4 separate regions of the Homo sapiens genome follow, and all the other regions are linked to region 1. Evidence: promoter capture Hi-C in 16 types of primary human blood cells and fetal thymus (Javierre and others, 2016). All regions are on one chromosome and are shown on one strand. Each heading gives the region's core, a stretch centred on a gene start or on the middle of the fragment in contact. The rest is flanking DNA. Distances are from core to core; before and after follow the strand shown. Region 1 holds the start of IFT81 (intraflagellar transport 81). Region 2 overlaps ATP2A2 (ATPase sarcoplasmic/endoplasmic reticulum Ca2+ transporting 2). Region 3 overlaps ATP2A2 (ATPase sarcoplasmic/endoplasmic reticulum Ca2+ transporting 2). Region 4 has its middle 14 kb from the start of ATP2A2.

Region 1 (2,724 bases), core at 64-2,563:
TAATCCCAGTACTTTGGGAGGCCGAGGCAGGCAGATCACTTGAGGTCAGGAGTTCGAGGCCAGCCTGGCCAACATGGTGAAACCCGGTCTCTACTAAAAATACAAAAATTAGCCAGGTGTGGTGGCGGGCGCCGGTAGTCCCAGCTACTTGGGAGGCTGAGGCAGGAGAATTGCTTGAACCCGGGAGGCGGAGGTTGCAGTGAGCCGAGATCGCGCCACTGCACTCCAGCCTGGGGGACAGAGAGAGACTCCGTCTCAACAGAAAAAATAAAATAAAAAAGATAATTTCTCCACAATGATGAAAAATTACGCACAAATAATTATTATTGCTAAGAAATAAGTCAAAAGAGGATAGGAAGGATAACCACCATGGCTTATAATAAATCTGAGGTTTCCTTTAAGCTATAAAAGGAAAACCTTTACGTAAGTTTTTTTTTAAAATCCATATTGGAAGTGCAAGTTTTCCATTGTTTAAAGTATTTTAAGTAAAAGTCCACGTCATAACCTTTGCGTGCAGAAATATGTATTTCATTTTAAATGATTTAGAAATTATCTATAGGTCTACTCTTTTTTCCCTTAAAAAAAAATCTGGATAAACTAGTACAACGTTTCCAGGAAGGCAAAATAAACCAGTTGGGTTCCCCCCAAGTCGCCCACCAGCCTGCAAAAATGGTCACTCGATAAGGACAAAGATGTACTGAACAGGAAGGCTGTCTGTGCCCAGCGGGCTCTGCGCTCTAAAATTAGCAAAAGCAATTACTGTCCCTCTTCTAGCGCGAAGTCGCCGCGCTAATTCCCAAGCACTCACCCACAAACGAGTCGCAGGAGGCGGGGAACAATGAAAACCAGGACGTGCGTGTTCTCTGGCACAATTTGGGAGAGAAACCGTGCTGCCTGGGTCCCAGGCTGGCACGAGCATCGACCCGCAGCCTCCTGGGAGTACCAGAAATAGTGTCCCCCTCCCCGGGCTCGGGACAGGGGACAGGGGACCCCACACCCGACCGGGCCTCTAGCGGGGGCTGCCCTGGGCCCCTCGACAGTTCATCCCTCCAGGGAGCGGCCTGGATCCGCTCGAATCCCAGAAGGGGCCCGATTCCCCTATCCGGGGGCTTAACCGCGACGACCCCTTCCACTTGCGAGGTGCTGCATCAGGACCGAGAGAGGACGGGAGCTCTCTCCTATTTCGGGGTTCAGAGGAGCTTCCGACCGCGAGTTGGCGAGGTTACCTCAAATTCTCCTCACGAAACCGTTTCCCCACCCCCCAGGAGGCGCCCGGGCTCTAGACCGCTCCCAGAGTCGAGCTCCTTGGCAACGGTTGCTAGGCCGTAGAGTTACGTCACTTCCGGGCGAGCGGCCGCTCTCCCGCGCGCGCGCGCACGAGCTGGGGGGCGGGGCCGGGCCAGGGCGGGGAGGACGGGCGCGGGGCGGAGCGGACGGGGCGGGGCGGGGCGGAGCGGACGGGACGGGGCGGGACGGGGCGGGGCGGACGGGGCGGACGGGAGCCGGGCTTACTTGCAAAGCGGGCCCACGTGCTGAGCCACTGCAGACAGCCGAGGGCATTTGGGACTGTTACTCCGACCTAGACGCGCTACAATAAGCTTCCCGAAAGTCCTGCACTTCGCAGTTTACAAAATACTCTCTGCATGATTAACCTATGTTAAATGCGTGTGATGTTTCATTCATTCATTCATTCATGCATGCATGCATGCATTCATGCGCCAAACGTGGGTGATGATTTTTGTTTGTTTTTGAGGCAGGGCTGGGTGGTAGGGGGGTTGGGATGAGCAAGCATTTGGCCAGTGCTTCAAATTTAGGTTTTTGACATAAGTATCTCCAAATTAGGTTATGCATAGGAACAATTGTAGTGAGGCTCTGGCAGGATTAAAAGAAGACACATTCATCATAGAGATTTCAGCTTCTGTGTCACATTACTGGGCCACATTGCCTGTACTGGGAATTAAATTTTTTTAAACCCAATACGTTTTGAGTATGCTGAGAGCCTGAAAGGGGGTGTGGGAGAACTAAGTGTCCTAATGTTCCTTTGGCTTCTGAGTGGGCTCTCTTTAGGTGACTGCAGAAATAAATTAAATCCTCCTTGTGGTCTTCATGGAGTTCACATCCCACGCAGGACGCAGGGAGATCTTTGTGCCCAGTCACTGATGAGGTTTAAAAGTCTACTGGAATTTGCACTAGCTGGTTTGTGGGAGACCTTAGTTGGCAAATGGTATTTTGAACCAACCTCTATTAGACTAGAGACCACGATACTTAGTGATATCAGCTGGCAATGAAAGAAAGAGAAGGAAAAAAAATCAAATTATTGATACCTTGAAAACTTAGTTGCCTGCTCAAACAGCATAGGAGAAACCAACTATAGCTTTAGCATCAGACTTACCACAACAAAAAATAACAGATTACGTATTAGGCATTTCCTATATGCCCTGTACTGTACAGGCTGCTGGAAATGCAGAAGGGCAGGACTTACCTGGCCCCTGCCCTGATGGAGCTGACAGTCTAGTGCCGGCAGAGATTATTAAAGGGGCAACACCAATACAATTGAGATAAATGCTGTAACAAGAGAAGCCAATGATTAGGAGCCCAGATTAAGGGCCTCAAGTTTATTTGGGGAGGGTGGTGCCAAAGGGGCCATACCATCAGGAAAGTTTCTGTCAAATGGAGTGATGTTTAAGGATCAGTAAAAATTAGGCCTGGCACCGTGGCTCACGC
Region 2 (2,724 bases), core at 59-2,558, 220 kb before region 1:
ACTGGAAATGCTTCATCAATAGCCAGCTCTTAAAGAACTTAAAAGCAGGGTGATCCAAACAACTGACTGATTACATCCTCAATTTTCAGAAAACTTACAATAAAAACACGTCTCATTTAAAAAAGAGACTAGATCACCAGATTGTTCCTCTGGGACTGATCTGGAAGGCCCTTCTGGGTTTTAAACGACTCTAGGATCTTCCCTGCAAGTAGCACACAACATGCTAACCACTGATTCACCGAATTCTAGAGAAAAGACCCAAATCATGACAAATTCCAAATTAGGGAGCTATGACAAAAAAATTCAGTGGTCAAAATTAGAGGCTACTATGTGCTTGTGTAGCCTGAGTCACCTGTACATGTTCAAACATGCTCACCATAGCTGTAATCTCATCAAAAGACTGAAGAAATTCTACGATTTTAGACTTGTGGGAGGGTTCAACTCGAGCAAAACAGCGGGCGTTCAGGCAGGCGTCTCGCTGGGCGGAGGGGTTGAGTTCATCAAACTCCCGGCCTGTGAAAGCTTTTGACGTCACGTCCTCATCCTGCCCGAAGATGCCGATGCGGCGACAGATGGCCACAGCAGTGCCCTTGTTGTCCCCAGTGATCATGATGACCCGGATGCCTGCTTGCCGGCACAGCTTCACGGAGGAGGCCACCTCGATTCTCGGAGGATCCAGCATGCCCACGCAGCCAACGAAGGTCAGATTGGTCTAAAATAAGAGCATCACTTTAAATAAAAGTGGCAAGTTCTAGTTTTTGTCCCCTAGTTTGAAAAATGCCCAGTTAAACATTGAGACAGGTTTCTGCATTTTTTTTCTTTTTTTTTTTTTGAGGCGGAGTTTCGCTCTTGTTGCCCAGGCTGGAGTGCCATGGCGCAATCTCAGCTCACTGCGACCTCCGCCTCCCAGGTTCAAGAGACTCTTCTGCCTCAGCCTCCAGGGTAGCTGGGACTACAGGTATGCGCCACCACACCTGGCTAATTTTGTATTTTTAGTAGAGATGTGGTTTCTCCATGTTGGTCAGGCTGGTCTCAAACCCCCAACCCCAGGTGATCTGCCAGCCTCGGCCTCCCAAAGTGCTGAGATTACAGGCATTTGAGCCACCGTGCCTGGCGGTTTTTGCATTTTCTTATGAGAAAAAAAAATACCACTACACCCGTTATCAAACCATTCTTTAACTCTTGTGCTATTCTGAGCCCACAGTACCAAAGCTTCTTCATTTTGTTCATAGCTTTAGGATGTCACATCCTTGATATAAAAGAATTCTACTCTGAGTAGAAAAGTGGAAGTAATCTCCAACTTGGATCTTTTGACCTTCAGTAACTAATGAATATTCTAGAAATGTCACCAATTTAAAAAAAATCATGATTTAGATGAGAGGCAAAATGGGGTTTACAAGCTTAAGCTCATCTTGATTATTCTACTTTGAAAATATTCTACTTTGAAAATAACACTTTTATGAAATTATTAACTATGTATGTTTGAAGCAGCAAATTTTAAGGGTGACACAGCTGGCAGGCAGAAAAACAAATAACCACACCTCTTTCTTGGCAAAAGTGAGAACTGTTTGACCTTTTGCTTGAAGGAGTACTGTTTAAACACAATGAATCGTGCAGGGTGTGGACAAAGAAACTTTTCATTAGCTAACCTCATATTTAATAAAGTTGGCAGAGTCCTCAAGGTGCATTTCTTCTCTTCTCAGTGGGTTGTCATGAGTGGCCAGGGCCAGGCATCGCAGTGTGTCGCTGCCACTACCCCACTCTCGAATGACAGACATGATCTTCTGTTTGACTCCAGAGGTCATAGGAACCTTAGTACTTCCAACTCGAATGTGGGTGCACCTGTCAATGACACCTTCAGGAGCACCCTGGAAATGTTACAGATTTAGATAAACAATTTTGTTTTATTGGTTCACCGGGATCTTAACCCTGGCAAGAACATCTCAATTGCAATCTGCCATACTTGCCTTCACAAACATCTTGCTCATTGATGTCCTGCTTGGTTTATTTGGTGTACAGTAAACCGACATTGACTTTCTGTCACGTGAAAACTCTAGAGTGAATTCCTTTTTCATCAGCTGTTTAATGACCTACAAAGGGAACAAATATGGATACTACTGGGTGGCAATTTCTGAACTTTTTTACCTAACAAGCAGTAAGCACACCTATTACATGACAGATGCTAGGAATATAGCAATAAACAAAACAGACAGGTTTTTGCCCTCATGAAACTTGTCCCCTATTTTGGGAGAGACAGACTAAGATGCAAAAGTAACACAAGTGCTATAGAGAAAAAGGGAAGGGGGATAGAAAATTTGCATACATACATATGAACTGTTACATAAAGTGGCCAGAAGGCGGTGACATTTGAATAAAGATGGCCCCATGGGGCCTGAAAAGATGTGTGTGAACCCAGTGGGTGGTGGTGAAGACCCACCAGGCAGAGAACGGAAGTGCAACCTGGCAAGTCCTGGAATGGTAAAGGAGTGCCAACGTGGCTGGAATAGAGTTTACATGAGCAAAAGGTGAGGCAGGTAATGGCAGAGGATGGTAGAAGCAGGTCATTAAGACCTCAAAAGTCATTATGGGGCATTTGGCTTTTAAGACAAGTAAAACAGAAGACAACGGAGGGTCTCAAGCTCCAGTTGTCAAGAATTGGCTGAAGGTGGTCGGGTGCAGTGGATCACCTGAGGTCAGCAGTTCATGACCAGCCTGGCCAACATG
Region 3 (2,724 bases), core at 91-2,590, 160 kb before region 1:
AAATTACCCGGGCGTGGTGGTGCATGCCTGTAATCCCAGCTACTCGGGAGGCTGAGGCAGGAGAATCACTTGAAGCTGGGAGGTGGAGGTTGCAGTGAGCCAAGATCGCACCACTGCACTCCAATCTGGGCGACAGAGCAGGACTCCGTCTCAAAAAAAAGACAGCGAAAAGGTAACAAGCTTCATGAACAGCAGCAAAGAAAAGTAAAAGAGAAGACCACTGCCCCATAGTTTTGGACATAAACAGTGTTTCTTCTTCCCTTTGCTTTGTGCTAAATACAATAATACCTGTCTTCTGGGACATACATTATCAAACAAGTTCAATGCTTCAAATGTGCCAGTATTATTCAAAGTAACCACTTGCTAATGAACACTCAACTACATTAAACTGTTAAAAATAGAGTAGGGATAGAGTATCTCCCAATTATTATCCACAAGATTAATCTCTGTACAGCACTGAAATACTGTACAACACTCTGTACTGCATTATACTTCTGATAAGTATACTAAAGCAAAAAAAAAATTTTTTTTTGAGACGGAGTCTCACTTTGTCACTCAGGCTGGAGTGCAGTGGCGCAATCTCGGCTCACTGCAACATCCGCCTCCCGGGTTCAAGCGATTCTCCTGCCTCAGCCTCCTGAGTAGCTGGGATTACAGGGACCCACCACCACGCCTGGCTAATTTTTGTATTTTTAGTACAGGTGGGGTTTCACCATGTTGGCCAGGCTGGTCTCGAACTCCTGACCTCAAATGATCCACCCACCTCGGCCTCTCAAAGTGCTGGGATTACAGGCATGAGCCACTCACTGCACCCGGCCAAATAAAGCAAATTTTAATCCAAGGTAAAAAGCACGTTCTGCTGTAAACTGGGAGACAGTCATGATATTGTGACTCAGATATCTATACACTGTGATAATAGGAAGAGCTCTTAGTATCATAAAAAGAAAACGAAAGAAAAAAGTGCTTAAAAAGATCATAAGCACATTTTGCTCCTAGTATTCTCAGAAACTTGCACTGTGCCTTTGGGCCCTCAAACAATTGCTCAATAAATGAAGAAATTTACATCAAGTTTTTTTTTTTTTTTAAATAAAGAGGAAATGGAAATTAAACATTTCGAGAATGATACAGAGAATTACCAATAAACGTTACGATAATTTCTGGGGGAGGACTTTCAGTCATTAATAAAACGGAAAAAAAAGCATGAATTAGAACTCGTTCCCTTCTGATCCAGATATAAAGCTATGTAAAAACATTCAATGCTTTCAGGCATGAGAAAACAATCTTTTTAAAAAGTACTCTATTAAATCCACCTTTCAAGTCATTATTTTAAGAAAAGCTCTGAATAAACTAGTTAAACCAATCAGTAATTTGCCCTTCTTATCCCATTTTTAAAATCAAAAATTAAAAGATACAGAAGAAAATTAAAATCACTACAAATCCAGTATCAAATGCTTTGAGTATTCTCTTCTGAGAAACTACAGTAAAAAGATCTCATGTATTTTCAGAAAATTCTACTGAAACAAACTCACCCAAGTTTTTGTGACATCAAAAGCACTAACTTAGGCCAGGCGCAGTGGTTCATGCCTGTAATCCCAGCACTTTGGGAGGCTGAGGCAGGTGATAACCTGAGGTCAGGAGTTCGAGACCAGCCTGGCCAACAAAGGTAAACCCCATCTCTACTAAAAATACAAAAATTAGCCGGGCGTGGTGGTGGACATCTGTAATCCCAGCTACTCAGGAGGCTGAGGCAGGAGAATCACTTGAACCCAGGAGGTGGAGGTTGCAGTGAGCCGAGATTGCACCACTGCGCTCCAGCCCGGGCAACAAGAGTGAGACTCCATCTACATTTAAAAAAAAAAAAAAAAAAAAGCACTAACTCAAGGGGGTCTAGTAGGAAGAAAAGAGACACACACATGCAAATGGTCAAATGTAACCTAAAGGTTGAGAAGTACCACAGTCTAGAAAGTTTTATTAGCATTTTAGGGTCAATCTAAGTAGCTGACATGGGAAACGACGGTGGAAGGTAGAGAAACCTATGCAAATTATTACCATATTAATTATGACTTTATGATTTAGACAGATGGGAGACCAACATGGCCCTAATGCCCACCTCCTTCAGATCTTTTCGCAAATGTCACCTTCCTCAAGAACTTTCCGGACCACCCAATTTGAAAACTGTTCCCCCTTTCACATACTCTGATATCCAAACCCCCTTGCTTTATTTTTCTCAGCAGTATTATCCTCCAGGTAAGGGTCTCTGTCTGTTTTATTCACTACTGTATCCCCAGTGTCTGTGACAGGTGCTCAATAAATATCTTAACAAAGCAGGAAAAGAGAAGAAAGGGCAGGCATCAGTTAAGCAACCATACGATGTGTTACATTTAGAACAAAGTTGGTAATCAAGAAGAGAATGAAAAGATAAAGTGAATGATAGAGGGGGGGTCTTCAGTGTCAAATTAAGCAATTTCTAATGTTCATATGCACTGGAAGATGAAGCTTATTTCTTTCAATCCAAGTGACCGTTTCAAAAAAACACTTTGGCCAATATTACAAATTAAACTAGATCCCTACAGGTCACAAGCATAGCTTCCTATTCTATGCCACAGCAAAATATTAACTATAGTTAACAGTTTACTACTTAGTTTGATATTTGAAGTAAGTCACTAATATTCTTTTTAATTTAAGCATGACTTGATGACGCATGATGTATATAAGAATCGCCTA
Region 4 (2,724 bases), core at 110-2,609, 140 kb before region 1:
ACTGCACTCCAGGCTGGGTGACAGAGACTCTGCCTCAAAAAAAAAAAAAAGGAAGGAAGGAGGCCGGGTGTGGTGGCTCACACCTGTAATCCCAGCACTTTGGGAGGCTGAGGTGGGCGGATCACTTGAGATCAGGACTTTGAGATGAGAGTGGCCAACATGGTGAAACCCTCTCTCTACTAAAAATACAAAAATTAGCTGGGTGTGGTGGCGCTCACCTGTAGTCCCAGTTTCTTGGGGGGCTGAGGCAGGAGAATTGCTTGAGCCCGGGAGGTGGAGGTGGCAATAAGCTGAGATTGCTCCACTGCACTCCAACCTGGGTGACACAACGAGACTCGGTCTCAAAAAATAAAAATAAATAAATAAATAAATCAAAAGAAGGAAGGGACAAAAAGGAAGACACCATTTAATAGACATGCATTTGCCATGCATGCAATGTGCTGGGACCTTTTCACATGTTGTCTTAGTGCATCCTTAGGACAAGCCTGTCTGGTACGTATCATTATCATTCCTATTTTTCCAGGTACTGAAAGTTGATTCTCAGAGAGGTTAAGTCACACAAATTAGAAATCACTATTCAATAAACATCTTTGGGAATAGAAGATTATTTGTAGGGAGAAGAATTAGCTTGGATCTATTTCTAACACCATGAAATGCAATCCGGCTGGGCGCTGTGGCTCATGCCTGTAATCCCAGAACTTTGGGAGGCTGAGGTGGGTGGATCACCTGAGGTCAGGAATTTGAGACCAGCCTGGCCAACATAGTGAAGCCCCGTCTCTACTAAAAATACAAAAAACTAGCCAGGCAGGCATGGTGGCAGGTGCCTGTAGAGGCAGGAGAATCGCTTGAACCCGGGAGGCAGAGGTTGCAGTGAGCTGAGATCGCACCACTGCTTGGGCAGCAAGAGTGAAACTCTGTCTCAAAAAAGAAAAGAAAAGAAATGCAATACATTTCATATTGGAAAGAGTGTTAAACATTTTTTTAAAAGTCTGTAAAACAATGAAAAGAAGCAACAAAACTATATAGGTGTGGAGGTCAAAGTGGGTGGATCACTTGAGGTCAGGAGTTTGAGACCAGCCTGGCCAACATGGCGAAACCCTGTCTCTACTAAAAATACAAAAATTAGCGGGGCTTGGTGGCACATGCCCATAATCCCAGCTACTTGGGAGGCTGAGGCAGGAGAATCATTTGAACCCGGGAGGTGGAGGTTGCAGTGAGCCGAGATCACGGCACTACACTCCAGCCTGGGTGACAGAGCAAGACTCCATTTCAAAAAAAAAAAAAAGTAGATAGGTGAGGAGGGGAGAGAAAACTTCTAAGTACTTCAGGTATAGAAACACTTTAAATTTGCATAATAAAATGTTATAAAACAAATGGAGGGAATGTATGCATGGGGTTTTAGAAAGAAACTAGACGACTCCTGGAAAACCTTTTAATGCTAGGAATCTGTGATTCTCTGACTGCGCAGAAGCACTCAGAGACCCACAAAGATTTTTATTATAGCAAATATCTCCTCAACTGGTTCTTGGACCAGTTTAATTTCCTGATCCCAGATCTGTCCCTACTCCCCGCTGTGGCAAGGGGAGAGAGGATCATTCTGAGTCACGAAATGCAGCCCTGTCCAGGGTGGGGAAGGGACAGCTGCTTAATTTGCAGCACATGTTGCTGAGAAAAGTGGTAAAGCAGAGTTCCCCTTCCACTGAAAGCTGCACAAGGAGGCTTCCGCCAGCTGAATGCAGTGACCTGAGCTGGAATTCTGCCAGGACAGTGGGATTAACTTCCCAAGTGCTGGCCAAAAAGGGCCCCGGGATTTTTATTTTTATTCATTTTCCATTACAACTGCACAGCAACGCAAACAAGCCCCACAACAATGTGAGCCACCAAGAGTCATTTTCCTTTGCTGGGTGCCATGTCAATACCACACATCTTGCTGACCTCATTTTACCGAAGTTTTAAGATGGGGAGCTTGATTACTTACTTCCCTGCTGACGATAATGGGAGAAAGGCATTGTGATTGCCCAATTAAAGCTGTATGCTTTAAAGGCGAAATAAAGCAACACATGCACACGGAGTCCACTGTACCCAGGGATAATAATTTAATGGGAAGTCAGTGGAAATCCAAGAAAATATAGGTCTAGCTCCCCAAGTCCCCTAAGATCAGGGGCCCAGAGGCACAGGGATTGGAGGAGATCTGACCACAGGCAATTAAATGTCAATTAAAAAGGGGGTCCAGTGGGGAGGGAAGGTAAAGGGCTTAGTGCATTAGAACCAGGCTCCAGGCTAATGAGACTCCTCAGAGAGGGCTTTGCACATGTTAGACAGGGGGTGTGTTTTAACTTGTGATTTGCCCTGTTTTTCCAGTCACATGATTCAATATTATCACAGTCTTCAAAACATCACCTTTTGGAAAACGTGGAGAGACAAATTCAGAGAATTGCAGGCACCAGGTAATACTGTATGCTCTTAGGCAAGCTACTTAATCTGTGTCCCTATTTCCTCAATTATAAAGAGTGGATAATTGAATCTACCTCATGTAGTTTTCGTGTGAGTTACATGAGAGACTGTGCATGTGATGTGCCTTGCACGTGGCTGGCAGCACTAGTAGAGAGACATTGCAGGCACCTTCATCTTAGGCTGATCTTAAGGCCCAGCCCTCCTAAAACGTAAACCATTTGATTTAATCTTGTAACAACAAACATATCCATTAACGTTATGGAAGATACA

The links. Contacts are between HindIII fragments. The CHiCAGO score rates a contact against its expected background, and 5 or more counts as called.
Region 2: a contact is called between a fragment that was not itself captured here and the fragment with the promoter of IFT81 in region 1, in 5 of 17 cell types (endothelial precursors, megakaryocytes, M1 macrophages and 2 more). The highest score is 11.0, in endothelial precursors.
Region 3: a contact is called between a fragment that was not itself captured here and the fragment with the promoter of IFT81 in region 1, in 4 of 17 cell types (endothelial precursors, M1 macrophages, naive B cells and 1 more). The highest score is 7.7, in endothelial precursors.
Region 4: a fragment that was not itself captured here is called in contact with the fragment with the promoter of IFT81 in region 1 in 3 of 17 cell types (endothelial precursors, M1 macrophages and erythroblasts); the score reaches 5.7 in endothelial precursors.

Annotation. Positions count from the first base shown.
Region 1 is chr12:110,122,946-110,125,669 of GRCh38, reverse strand. IFT81 (intraflagellar transport 81) reads right to left here and starts at 1,313. Exons shown (of 19, transcript NM_014055.4): 1 at 809-1,313. RefSeq lists a silencer at 1,230-1,499. The HindIII fragment of the contact is 3,777 bases long and covers 1-1,600 here.
Region 2 is chr12:110,338,647-110,341,370 of GRCh38, reverse strand. It overlaps ATP2A2 (ATPase sarcoplasmic/endoplasmic reticulum Ca2+ transporting 2), which reads right to left. Exons shown (of 20, transcript NM_170665.4): 12 at 1,968-2,090; 13 at 1,650-1,868; 14 at 377-712. Among named protein-coding and RNA genes, the nearest start is that of ATP2A2, 59 kb to the right of the region's middle. RefSeq lists enhancers at 1-870, 2,278-2,377. The HindIII fragment of the contact is 188 bases long and covers 1,215-1,402 here.
Region 3 is chr12:110,285,061-110,287,784 of GRCh38, reverse strand. The region is part of intron 3 of ATP2A2 (ATPase sarcoplasmic/endoplasmic reticulum Ca2+ transporting 2); the gene reads right to left. Among named protein-coding and RNA genes, the nearest start is that of ATP2A2, 5.2 kb to the right of the region's middle. The HindIII fragment of the contact is 2,316 bases long and covers 183-2,498 here.
Region 4 is chr12:110,266,371-110,269,094 of GRCh38, reverse strand. No RefSeq gene overlaps it. Among named protein-coding and RNA genes, the nearest start is that of ATP2A2, 14 kb to the left of the region's middle. The HindIII fragment of the contact is 5,355 bases long and covers 1-2,724 here.